3 separate regions of the Homo sapiens genome follow, and all the other regions are linked to region 3. The links are contacts of gene promoters, found by promoter capture Hi-C in human tissues and cell types (Jung and others, 2019). All regions are on one chromosome and are shown on one strand. Each heading gives the region's core, a stretch centred on a gene start or on the middle of the fragment in contact. The rest is flanking DNA. Distances are from core to core; before and after follow the strand shown.

Region 1 (4,148 bases), core at 1,056-3,555, 170 kb before region 3:
CTCCTCATCTTTAATGTTACCCTCATGCTTCAATTTATTCTCAACAGTATTGTTTAGACTTATCTTTGTGAAAGTAAATATGGCTACACCAGTCCCTATTTTAAAAATGTAAATGACTCTCAACAATTTTATCACAAAGTCTCAAATTCCTAAGAAAGGTATACCATGTTCATGATTTGTTCAGCCTTGTTTCCCACCTCTTTCCAATTGCACTTCATGCTCTAATAACACTGACTCTCATGTAGATCCCAAATGGAAGTTACTTTCTGTCACCTCTATCCACAACTTTGTACAATATGTTGCCTCTGTCACAAATGTTCTATTTACACTTTTCCAGCTGTCAAACTGTATCCTTCAAGTGGCCTTTCTCCAATTCTCTTAAGACAAATTGTGCTCATATTCACACTTTATCTGATTTATGTCTTTATAACTAATAGTCTACCACAATGTCCAAGGTTCCATGAATATGTGTGGTGTTATTAGATAAATAAATGGATGGATGGATGGATGGAATGGATGGTCAGAAGGACAGATGAATGGACATTGGAGGGAGGATGATCAAAAAGACTTTCTGAGGAGACACGTTTTAGTCTCAATGTTAAATACTGGCTAAGCTTAGAAAGATTGTGGTGAAGAAAGAAATATTCTATCCATGTGGATAGAATAATGAAAGCAAGGGTGAGGAGGAAGGTGAGAGAAAGCTTTGTGGAAACAGTGAGTTCATCTGGGGTAAAATCTTTATATAGAAAATTAGTAAAAGCCAGAATATTAAGGTTGTCGGTAAAACAAAGAGGGAAAAGCAAGGACATCATATTTTAAAGGCATTCAAGCAAGGGTGATAGAAGTCACCGGACAACAAACAATTACATTTGCATGCAGAGAATGTTGCTAAGAGGCATGAAGTGGGTTTTATTTGCTGTTAAAATTCTGCAGATTGATTTATAGTTAACTATGTTGACAGCATGGAAAAGTACTCCTTTTATTTTTAAATACCTATGTAAAACCTTAGGTTAAAGATTAAATTTTCTTATAAAAAATCGTCAGATCTAAAATCATGTCTATGTCAAATTCTAATATGTATATACTTATATATTTAGACAGGATTGTGGATATGTTCTACAAAAATTCTTTTGGCAGAATATTATTTATAATTCATCAAACTAGCACATTATTTTGAAACATAATGTAAGAAAATAAAGTTTCCAATAAGAAAGGTCCAAGGAGTTACTTGCAAACATAACTAGAAGAGCAACCAAATAAATAGAATTATGAGAATCCTTCACTTTCACCTTTCACTCAGAGAATGAATCTATTAAATTATGAAGGCTGAATAGTTTTAATTTCCTTTGAACACTTTGGTATTTTTTTTAACTTAAGTGACAGGAAAGCTGTTAAAATGACAGGCACAAGAATGGCAAATTCTAAATCTTACAGAACCATAAAGAAAAAAATGAGAACAGAATTGTTTCTACATGTTCAAGGAGTAGAGAATAAGTATAAGTAGAAGAAAATAAATTTAATAAATTCAAGACATTCAGAGGCAAAGTACTTGTGGAAAGAACCTGAAAATTTTAAAAATATTTTAAAATTGTGGCAGATTATCATGTTTTAGTATAATAGCAGTAGCCTAATTTAGAGAAAGTCTGTAGAGAAGACAAAAGTCTTAGTGGAAAAAGTAAAAGCACTGAGATGAAAAAGATTTCTGAGCCTCAGTTTTCTCATATGTAAAATGGATATAATAAAATATAAGATGCAAAAACAATTGTGAGGACTAGAGATACATTATATAACGTATTTGGTGCAAGGTAAGCAGTTAATAAGTAATCATTATTGTTATTATTATCATAGAGTTTGACACACAAATTAGAGAAATTTAAAATTATAAAATAAAGAAAATGATAAAAATTATGAAGAGTTATAAAGAAAACATCAGCAGATCAATTTTTATGCTGGCAGACTAGGGAGGAAATAGTTTTAAAGAAATATTTCTCAAATGGCTGAGCATATATGTTTTCTCTGTCCCCTTGTCAGAGAGAAGTGAGTTAACAGCTAGTTAGCAACAGGTGGCATTATTGACCTCCTAAACATTGCAAAGTGCAGGAAGGTGACATTGAAAGTGGGATAGCCTCATTTGTTGACAAGGGTGTCTTTTCCCCACTTTATGTTTTTGTTTGCTTTGTCAAAGATCAGTTGGTGGTAAGTATTTGGGTTTACTTCTCGGTTCTCTATTCTGTTCCATTGGTCTATTACCTATTTTTATATCAGTACCATACTGTTTTGGTGACTGTGGCCTTTATAGTATAGTTTGAAATCTGGTAGTGTGATGCCTCTAGATTTGTTCTTTTTGCTCAGTCTTGCTTTAGCTAGGCAGGCTCTCTTTTGGTTCCGTATGAATTTTAGAATTGTTTTTTCTAATTCTGTGAAGAATGATGGTGGTATTTTGAAGGGGATTGCATTGAATTTGTAGATCACTTTTGGCAGTATGGTCATTTTTACAATATTGATTCTAACCATCCATGAGCATGGGATGTGTTTGCATTTGTTTGTGTCATCTGTGATTTCTTTCAGCAGTGTTTTGTAGTTTTCCTTGTAGAGGTCTTTCAACTCCTTTGTTAGGTATATTCCTAAGGTTTTTTTTTTTTTTTTTTGCAGCTATTGTAAAAGGGTTGCGTTCTTTATTTGATTCTCTGCTTGGTCGCTGTCGGTGTATAGAAGAGCTGCTGATTTGCGTACATTAATCTTGTATCCAGAAACCTTGCTGAATTCTTTTATCAGTTCTAGGAGCTTTCTGGAGGAGTCCTAAGGGTTTTCAAAGTAAACAGTCCTATCATCAGCAAACACTGACAGTTTGACTTCCTCTTTACCGATTTGGATGACCTTTATTTCTTTCTCTTGTCTGATTGCTCTGGCTAGGACTTCCAGTACTATGTTGAAGAGGAGTGGTGAGAGTGGACATCCTTGTTTTGTTCCAGTTCTCAGAGGGAATGCTTTCAACTTTTCCCCATTCAGGATTATGTTAGCTGTGGGTTTGTCATAGATGGCTTTTATTACATTAAGGTATGTCCCTTGTAGGCCAATTTTGCTTAGAGTTTTAATCATAAAGCGATACTGGATTTTGTCAAATGCTTTTTCTGAATCTATTGAGATGATCATGTGATTTTTGTTTTTAATTCTGTTTATGCAGTGTATCACATTTATTGACTTGCATATGTTAAACCATCCCTGCATCCCTGGTATGAAACACACTTGATCATGGCAGATTATCATTTTGATATGTTGTTGTATTCAGTTACCTAGTATCTTGTTACGGATTTTAGCATCTATGTTCATCAGGGATATGAGTCTGTAATTCTCTTTTTGGTTATGTCCTTTCCTAGTTTTGGTATTAGGGTGATGCTGGATTCAACGAATGAAGTAGGGAGGGGTCTTTCTTTCTCTATCTTGTGGAATAGTGTCAAAAGCATTGGTACCAATTCTTTGAATGTCTAGTAGAATTCTGTTATGAATCCATCTAGTCCTGGACTTTTTTTGTTGGTAATTTTTAAATTACCATTTCAATTTCGCTGCTTGTTATTGGTCTGTTCAGGGTATCTAATTCTTCGTGATGTAAGCTAGGAGGGTTGTATTTTTCCAGGAATTTATTCATTTCTTCTAGTTTATATGCATAAAGTTGTTCATAGTAGCTTTGAATGATCTTTTGTATTTCAGTAGTGTCAGTTGCAATATCTCCTGTTTTGTTTCTAAATTAGGTTTTCTCTCTTCTTTTCTTGGTTAATCTTGCTAATGGTGTATCAATTTCATTTATCTTTTCAAAGAATCAGCTTTTTGTTTCATTTACAAGTTACAGACTGGGATAACATATTTGTAATCCACATATCTAGCAAAGGACTAGTATATAGAATATAAGAAGAACTCTCAAAACTCACACAGTGAAAAACAAAAACAAAAAAATTAATCCAATCAGAAAATGGGCACAAGACATGAACAGATATTTTGCCAAAGAGGCTATACAGATGTCAAATAAGCACATGAAAAGATACTCAGCATTATTAGTTAATAGACAAACACAAATTAACGTCCCAATATAGTATCGCTTCACATGTATCAGAATGGCTAAAATAATAACAATACCAAATTCTGGTGAGAAT
Region 2 (4,534 bases), core at 104-2,603, 190 kb after region 3:
TATTTCCACCTATACCTATTGTTATTTAATGGGGATTACTGGACATTATTCAATTAGCTATCCTGGAGCAGGGCTGACCTGGGTTTAGGACCTGGCACTCCCGCACCAGCATGGAACATACAAAAGGAGATATCCCAGCTGTTGGTACTGTGAGGAAGTCTAAACCAGGAGACAGAGCCCAGGATCCAAACGGCAGCTCTGCCCCCATTAACAGTACCGTGGGCATCAGGCAGTAAAAGGGTGTTTCAGTGAACAAGTTAAATACTGCAACTGGGAATATTCAAGCTGATAGGTAAAGTCTCAACCATTGGGTGGGGATCAGTGGCAAGACTTCAACTCCTTGTAGAGTCAAGAGGGGTGTGAGGGCTGAGAGAAAGACTAGGACTAGCCCAAAGCAAAATAAAGAGCATGAAAATTATTAGGCAGATCCCCAGGCAGATTCAGTTAACAAAACTGGGAGCCAATCATTCAAGATAAGGAAGATTTGGAATCACAGCTCAAAGCACAGGCCAAAGCCTCTAGCAGCAAAGGCTTCATGGGTGCTGAACTTTTACATCCCTCGCAGTAGAGACAGGGCCTGACTGCTCAAGGGGCAGGCCACTTGGGATCGCACTTACACTGGGAGGTTGGACCACAGGAAGAGAAAATGTGTCCAGGCGGAGAACTGAGCCAGCGCTGGCCCCTCTAACTTGACAAACTCTCAGCAAAATCCACTTTAGCCTCGACTTTCCTGAGCTGTAAGATGAAATTCTGAGAAGAAAGATGAGAAAAGCAAATCTGTAGAGTTGCCGGGAGCTTTCACACTCCTCCTTCTTTATAAAAACCAGTTTCTGCTTAGCTCAGGTAGTAACAGAATTATTTCTAATTACCTAAAATTTCTCCTCTAACTGGATTTCAGCAGGAAATGATATCCTCAAAAGCTTAAATTTCTGGAGTGAAAAATGTAAAAAGTTAAGAAGGTAGGAGTGTTAACAGTTAATGGATTATCAGAGTGGTATGTGCAGCATAGATGTGTACACTGAAACAAAGAAGTGTGAATTTGCAAGGAATAATTCTTTTTCTTTAAAAATAGAAAATGCATGCTAATATTGAGAATAGAAACTGAAATTTATTTTGCATAAGAAACATAAATTTATGGCCTGGCACGGTGGCTCATGGCTTTAATCCCAGCACTTTGGGAGGCCGAAGTGCGTCGATCACGAGGTCAGGAGTTCGAGACCATCCTGGCTAACAAGATGAAACCCCGTCTCTACTAAAAAATTCGCCGGGCATGGTGGCACGCGCCTGTAGTCCCAGCTACCCAGGAGGCTGAGGCAAAAGAATCGCTTGAAGCCGGGAGGCAGAGTTTGCAGTGAACCGAGATCACGCCACCGTACTCCAGCCTAGGCGACAGACCCTCCGTCTCAAAAATTAAAAAAAATAAAATAAAATAAACATAATTTTGAAATTGTCACCATATAATTAACCTAGCCACAAAGAATAGGCAATAAGAGCATAGCTGAATGTATTGAATTGAAAAATAATGACCTTGAAAACACTGGCACAGGAATTTATATTTTTCTATTTTAATTTATAGCTTGTGAAGTGTTGATATAATTTTCTACATTTTACATAATTTGGGAGTGTCTTCTTTCAAAGGAGCTTTAAATATATTGGAATTTATTGGGCAACTGCTAACTCAGAAGCAAGTGGTTGTCCATCTATTGGCTTCCAGAGAGAGGTTGCACTGGTTCATTTAGGCAACTGGAATCCCATTTACCAGAAAGCTAATCAACAAGATGGCTAGTTACATTTATGAGTATTTCTTTTAGAGGCATTTAGTTTCAATCCCACAGATGGTAGCTGCAGACCATTAGTTTCTGAGCCAAGCTTTTCAGTGTCCTATTGTACTTAGCAAGATTGCTATGCAGCAACACAATTATTCCAAATTCAGCAAGAGTCAGCGGGCCTAAAACAAAGCTATGCCATAACAATTTAATCCCAGCTCACCTTCCCCTTTGCTGGATAAATAATCAAACACCTGCTGAATTCTGTTCCATATAATGAGAACATCTTAGCAACAAAGATCAAAGAACACTGACATTTGATCTCTAAGTAGAACCCCATTATAAAAAAGGATTTTTATTACGTGGTGTCGGATAGCTATTTTGTGGGTCAGATAATGCTGGGACAAATAAACAATACCAAAAAATCCTAACTCAACATGATTAATTTGTAAGGCATGGGTCATTCCTTTGCCTCAGCATCAACATTTTTGAGTGCTTCATTCTATCAGAGTCAGCCATCTTTTGAATGACTTGTAAAACAGTCATTTAAAATGTACAGGGGCAAGCGAATATGTGCTTTCTGGTTTTTTATTCATGCTTTAAAAAAAGCAGTAAAAATGCAAGGTGAAAGGATATTAAGGATGTTTATCTTTCTAGTTGCACTAGAATTCCCACTTTCAAGAACAAGCAAAATAGTTTGAGCTTTGAAAATGTCCAAAACACACGTTTTCCAATGTAATTCACATAAGACAATTTGACGATTCCTTCTGGGGTTTCTTTTCATGCTTGCAGTGAATAAATAAATATGAGTACAAATGATAAGGCTTTCTTTCAGGATTTTATTATAATTGCTGAATACATCTCCTACACTCAGGCATTAACTCCTTCTCTGAATCTTTTTTAAAAAATATTGCATGTATGCTATAGAATGCAAATCCTCCTTTCCTTCTCCCATCACACCCAGACAGCTTGTGAAACCCCATATTCTTCATAAAACCTCTCTTGAATGAAAATGACATAGGGCTTTCACCTCCAGTCCTTCATATAAAGGTCTAATTGAAGCAGCTTTCCCCAGATTCTCTTCTCTGTAAAGGGCACTTGTACTATTTCTCATATATGAAGTAAATACTTATTTTGATGTATTTAGTCAAAAGGGCAGCTGGGCCTCTATACGTTTGCTTATGAGATTGCCTGTCTTAGGAAACTTTAATAAGTCAAACATTGAACAACAATCCTTTGGCACTGTGTGCCACTGGAACTTAATAGAGCTCAATGGTGTTTTTTATATTAGCGGTTGTGTGAACGTAGGCTATGTGACATCTAGATCTGTGTGAATACCACAGTGTGCACAAATAACAGTACAGATTAAAAACAAACTTAACAGGACATCCAAAGCCATTAATTGTATTGAAAGTATTCTTAAATTAAAACCATTTATGTGACAATATTGAGCAGAAGACTAGTTTTCAGTAAGAATATTTAATGGTCATCAAGAAAAACATAGTCATTTCCTACTCCCTATAGAATACAAATTCTTGTATTTAAAATTAACACTAGCCAAAAGTACCAGAGCATCCTCCTAACATGAATAGCCTCACTTATCTTTTGGCTAAATGTTAATCTAACCAACAAAGGGAAACTCTTTTAAGCCTGTCTCTTCTTGATATGACAGGATGCAGAATTACCACAATTTTGGACAGTATTTTAAATCATTCAGGACTACTTTTGAATAGTTGATAAAAACTAAACTTTTGTATATGTGTATTACACTTTTTTCCATGTAATATCAAAGTGGTGATATACCTCAGATTTAAAATTTGTGCTGACCTAAGAAATTTTTTTTTAATTTTTAAAATTTTACTTGAAGTTCCAGGACACATGTGCAGAATGTGCAGGCTTGTTACATGTGCCATGGTGGTTTGCTGCACCTATCAACCCACCATCTAAGTTTTAAGCCCCACATGCATTAGGTATTTGTCCTAATGCTCTCCCTCCCCTGCCCCCCACCTGCCAACAGGCCCCAGTGTGTGATGTTCCCCTCCCTGTGTCTATGTGTTCTCATTGTTCAACTCCCACTTATGAGTGAGAACATGTGGTGTTTGGTTTTCTGTTCCTGTGTTAGTTTGCTGAAAATGATGGCTTCCAGCTTCATCCATGTCCCTGCAAAGGACATGAACTCATCCTTTTTTATGGCTGCATAGTATTCCATGGTGTACATTTGCCACATTTTCTTTATCCAGTCTATCATTGATGGGCATTTGGGTTGGTTTCAAGTCTTTGCTATTGTAAATAGTGCTTCAATAAACATGTGTGTGCATGTGTCTTTATAGTAGAATGATTTGTAACCCTTTGGGTATATACCCAGTAATGGGATTGCTGAGTCAAATGGTATTTCTGGTTCTAGATCCTTGAGGAATCGCCACACTGTCTTCCACAATGGTTGAACTAATTTACACTCCCACCAACAGTGTAAAAATGTTTCTATTTCTCCACAGCCTCACCAGCATCTGTTGTTTCCTGACTTTTTAATAATCACCATTTTAACTGGTGTGAGATGGTATCTCACTGTGGTTTTGATTTGCATTTCTCTAATGATCAGTGATGATGAGCTTTCTTTCATGTTTGTTTGCCACATAAATGTCTTCTTTTGAGAAATGTCTGTTCATATCCTTTGCCCACTTTTTGATGGGGTTGTTTTTCTTGTAAATTTTTTAAGTTCCTTGTAGATTCTGGATATTACGACTGTCAGATGGGTAGATTGCAAAAAT
Region 3 (4,768 bases), core at 692-3,191:
TAAACCTTTTAAATAAAGTTTACTAATTGAAAGGACTAATAGATGGAGTGATGCATTCTTCAAAATCTATTGTCATGCTTTTGTGGACTTTATTGCTTATCAGCATTTTTCCCCTCAAGAAAAAAAAACAGAACAGCAACATTTGTTCAGAAAAAAAACAAACCATGTTTCTTCCTTTCTTATTACTTTTATTGTTTGAGGTTTCTTTTAGACTATAATGTGGCATTGTGATTTTAAGATGGGAAAAAAAAATCTCTTGTCTTTCAAACATAGGAATGTGATTGTATGCTATTGTTGCCAACAATGAGCTAAAGAGGTTAATGGATCACATATCTGGCAAACAGCCATCTTTCCTCCTGCTCAATATATTACACAGTATACATTTTATTGTTGCTGCTGAGCATATGATTTTGTCTGAGTAGTTGGTAAATAAGTTTAGACTTAACTGGTCTCTTTCTAAAACTCAACAGCTTTGTCATTCAGGCTATATCCTGAGATTTAAAAAGTGCAGTTTCGGTTCTTAGCTCATGACCTTTTGAGGTGATGGTAAGAGTGGTGGGAGGAAGGAGGTGGGGCGGGCTGTTGAATGAGAATCTAGAAATATTGTGCCTTGTAAATTGCATCCGACCTTTCATTTTCAGATTGCCTAAATTAACAGAGTGAAATTACCATAATAAAAAGGAATGGGTACTGGAGAAAGTACAGCAATTCTTTCTAGTGTTGTTTCCCAGATTCCTTCCAAAATACCTCTAATTAAATGGACCAACTCTCTCCACTGACCTCAGGTTGACACAAATTTGCATTCTGCGACTGTCATTTGAAAACAGACAAGCCGTCATAAGCAATAATGCTGTGATTTCTTGCCTAAAGGACTTTTCTGTGTACTGCATTTGTACTATGAAATGTAAGCAAGAGACTTAATGCCTCTACAGATAAAAAGGGAGGAAAGATTTTCATTTTTAGGGAACCCCAGAGGGAAAAAGTTTATCAATGAGAAATACAATGTTCTGGATAATTTTGGTTGGGTAGGAATGTATGTTGAGGGAGGGGACTAGAGTTGGGAGAGAGGAAGCAACACATCAGTCTCCTTGGAGCAGTAGAGTCCTTTCAGTCCGGTAAAGAGCACAGTAAGTAGCAGGTAGAATCAGCTCCTGGCCTGTTGTTTTGCTGGGGGCAAAGGGTTGGAGGAACACAGACTAAATTGGGAAGGCTAGTGTGCCTCTCGGCTTTTGGACTTGGGACCTGAAAGAAGGCTGAGTCCTGAGCTCCGCTTCCCAGCTAGGCGGTGATCGCCCCCTGTGACTCCGGATGCACACAGCAGCCCCAAGCACGCCGCGGCCGCCGCCCGACCCTTCACCGCCTCCGGCTCTCCCGCCTGGCACTCTGGAGCCACACACACCAGCTTCCTGGACACCTGTGTGCCCCAAGCTCTGGGTCTAGGCATCCCCCTCACCCCAGAGAGACCGGTCTCAGCGCCTCAGCAATTGGGTCCCTCCGACCTCTGTGTCCCCGAGTTCTGCCACCCTGGTCACCTCCGCAGGTTCCCCAAGCTGCGACCTCAGTCCAACTGGGAGCCCTGCGCGCCCACCCGGCAGCCCCACTGCGCTGCTCGCCCGCGGTTCCAGCGCCTGGGTGGGACGCGCAGTGGCTCAGCTGCGGGACCTCCGCCTCCGGGTAAATCCTCCTCCTCCCCTTTCTCCGCCTAAGGCCCTGCCCTCCCCCTGCAGCAAGCCGCTCCGGTGCGTGCGCCCGTCTCTCCGCCGAAGACACCTGCGCTTCCTTCCCCACCCTCCTCCTCCTCCCTTTCGCTGCGGTTTCTCCGCTGCCTTTGGGAGCTCGGGAGCGGCAGCTGGAGGAGGAGCACGGGGAGGAGGGGAAGGCGAGGAGGAGTAGGGGCGGGGTGGGTGGGGAGAGAGCCGGGAGGGTGTGGACTGGCAGCCACTCTGCAGCTGGTCGCCAGGGACCCGGTCCCTCCTGCGCGCCCAAGTGATGGAGGGGAAGAGATTCGCTTAGACACACACACGCGCACACAGCTGGGCACGTCTCCGGGAGGCAGCTGCCGGCTCGGGCGCTCTGGGGGCCGGGCGGCGGCCGTGACAGCGCCAGCCGCGGGGAGCGGGGCGCCCGCACAGCTTGGCACCGGAGGCTCGAGGACGCAGGAAGGGAAGATCCCAGTCACACTGAGTGTTGCTCTTTTGGGCGGATTGGGAGGGAGCGGGCTGCCCGAGGAGCTGTCACCGAGGACGCCCGAAGTCTCGCCCTCTGCGCGCAGGGTCCGGGGCTGCGCCGGTGCCCTCGTGGGGCAAGGAGGATGCGCACCTCCCCCCGCAGAGCGGCTGCGGTCTCCGGCACTGCGCGGACTCCGGCTCCTGCGGCCGCCCGTGCCGTGCCCGCGCCACGGGAGCGCGCCCTGCCGCACCTGGTTCCAGCCTCTCGGGGAAGTGCAGGAAACGCGCCCTAAACTCCACTACTTCTCGCCCGCCTGCCCCCCCGCCCGGCTCCCCGCCTCAGACCTCGCCGCCGCCGCCGCCGCCGCCGCCGCCTGCGTGTGGGGCCCGCTCGCGTCTTACTCACACGCGCCACGCACAGCCCTGTTGGTTTGCTCTCATTCACGCCGACTCGCTCTCCGCCGAGCCTAGCCCGGGCATCCGAAACTACTGGACCAACTGCCGTCCGGACCGCAGCAGCGGCCGGGTGACCCCCACGCGACCCGCCGCCGACCCCCGCGCCCTGAGGCTCCCGCCCGCGCCGCCACCGCCGGGGACCACGGTGAGCAAGGCGCGCTGCCCGCCTCGCGCGGGGGAGGGGCTTTGAGACCTCTAGATTTGGGGGGAAATGAGAAGGGGCAAATCGCCAAAGGGAAGCATCCGGGTGATGCCAGCAAAAAAGCACTTTGTGGGGTTCGGTTCTCCTGGGCGCTGCCTGGGGAAGACTTTTGAGAGGTTTGCTTAGGACCAGAGGTTAAACTAGTGCGAGATGAGAAACGGCGGGGGCAATTCCTGGGGTAAAATTAGACAGAAGGTGTCAGTCAGCCTGCCTGTCTGTTTCTCTCTCAGTCTCTCCCAGAGCGCTGGGTAGCGCTCTCTTTGAGGGAGAAAGGGAACACGCGTTTACTGCGCTCGCCAGAGTTTAGGGGTTCGCGTTCGGTCACTTCTGGGGTGGCTGTGGAGCTGTTTGGAGCGCGAGGGCAGCTTTGGGACAGTGGGGGCCTGCGAGGCCCCAGCAGAGGACAGGCAGAGGGCAGGCAAAGAACAGGCAAAGGCTAAGTTAACATGTGGGTGGGGTTTTCTCTTCCCAGCTGGCCCCCCCCACACCCCTCACAGCCCCACTTTATGCATCTCTTCCCACCCAACACACACGCGCGCGCGCGCGCGGGATGGATGCAGTCGAAGGGTGGTCATACTGTTACTACAAACAAGTCTGAGAGGTCGCTGTCGCTACTCACTGGAGCGCTGAGACTCCTGCTCCTGTTACTTGGGCGACCACCTTGGTTTAGGGCAACCTGCAAGGAGCGTCCAGCTTAAGGTGGATGTCTTTACCTGGAGGTTCCAAGCGCCCAGCAAACAAACAACTCCGGAGTCACTTCACCTTGGTGGGTTTCCTCTACTCTTCCGCTTCCCTACTTCAGTGCTTCAGGGCACCCACCCAAGGGAGCTGATGCTCACATTCGTGGTCTACCCTGTCTTCACCCGGTGGGACTCACTCTCTCTCTCTCTCTCTCTCTCTCTCTCTCTCTCTCTCCCCCTCTCTCCCTATTCCCTCTCCCTCTCCCTCTCCCTCTCCCTCTCCCTCCCTCCCTCCCCTCTCTCCCCCTCTCCTCTCTGTCTCCGAATACGAATACCAGTTTCTTCTTAGAAAACACTGGGGAGAGATTTAATATTTGCAAAGTGCTTTATGTCATATTACTTCGTGGATACATTTAATAGCACTGTAACTCTTCTCTGATTTATGTAAACTTGGTCTGATAAATAGCATGCAGGGTCGGGTTGGGTGGGGGCGAAAGTGGGTGGGTGGGCCTTCTTTCTGTGCTAATGCTCCTTTCTAAACTGATTTGCTAGAAGTAATAAACAGCTGGTGCTTCTCAAAGGTTTTACTTAGTAGTTTCTACATATTTCAGAGCTTTAGACAAATTACACATTATAATTTATTTCAAATATATTAAGGTCTTTTCAAGAAAAAGTTGAAGATAATAAAAGGGGATTACAAATATGAATATCAAAAATGATTATTTTTTAAAAAAGGTTTTATTGCTATCAATTATGTTGCAATAGATTTTTGTTGTTGTCATTGTTACCTTGGGGTTTCCTCCTAGTGAAGTTTTTAAAGAAATGAAAACAATACTACTTACCTTCCTCTCTCTGTTTGGTCATTGCTCAAAGTAACTGCATGAGCATCAGGGCAGGCTTCTTAACTTCAGGAATATGAAGTTATTCACCAGTGAACTGATGGAGACACAAGAAGATATTACAAGACACATAGCAATGGGAAGGAAACTGTTGCTTAAATTTAACCGCCTCCAGTGTTTTAACAGTGAAAAAGAAAACTGCTTTGGCCTCTCCCAAGCTACTCTGGCCTTTTAGAAACACTCTTTTTTCAATTAATAAAACATATAGAAACATCATTACTTGAGAAAAATATTTTCAAATAGGTATGTAAGCAAATTACATGGGAAATTATGAGCACAATATTCAATGGAGTATTACAGCAAGTACTGGGATCCTGGTTTCTAGGTTGAGCCAGAGCTCATGCTTAAATTTTAACATTTGAA

The links. Contacts are between HindIII fragments. The study calls those that stand out against the background at their distance.
Region 1: a fragment that was not itself captured here is called in contact with the fragment with the promoter of HS3ST5 in region 3 in 1 of the 25 tissues and cell types used here (mesendoderm cells).
Region 2: a contact is called between a fragment that was not itself captured here and the fragment with the promoter of HS3ST5 in region 3, in 1 of the 25 tissues and cell types used here (hippocampus).

What each region holds. Positions count from the first base shown.
Region 1 is chr6:114,509,816-114,513,963 of GRCh38, reverse strand. All of the region lies in intron 2 of LNCPOIR (lncRNA periodontal mesenchymal stem cell osteogenesis related), which reads left to right. Among named protein-coding and RNA genes, the nearest start is that of LNCPOIR, 33 kb to the left of the region's middle. The HindIII fragment of the contact is 3,293 bases long and covers 659-3,951 here.
Region 2 is chr6:114,148,824-114,153,357 of GRCh38, reverse strand. The region is part of intron 3 of HS3ST5 (heparan sulfate-glucosamine 3-sulfotransferase 5); the gene reads left to right. The region is part of intron 6 of HDAC2-AS2 (HDAC2 and HS3ST5 antisense RNA 2); the gene reads right to left. Among named protein-coding and RNA genes, the nearest start is that of HDAC2, 180 kb to the right of the region's middle. The HindIII fragment of the contact is 4,615 bases long and covers 1-3,660 here.
Region 3 is chr6:114,340,196-114,344,963 of GRCh38, reverse strand. HS3ST5 (heparan sulfate-glucosamine 3-sulfotransferase 5) reads left to right here and starts at 1,941. Exons shown (of 5, transcript NM_153612.4): 1 at 1,941-2,769. LOC107986638 (a long non-coding RNA gene) reads right to left here and starts at 2,639. Exons shown (of 8, transcript XR_002956366.2): 1 at 2,575-2,639. HDAC2-AS2 (HDAC2 and HS3ST5 antisense RNA 2) reads right to left here. Exons shown (of 10, transcript NR_125845.1): 10 at 4,235-4,442. The HindIII fragment of the contact is 10,455 bases long and covers 1-4,768 here.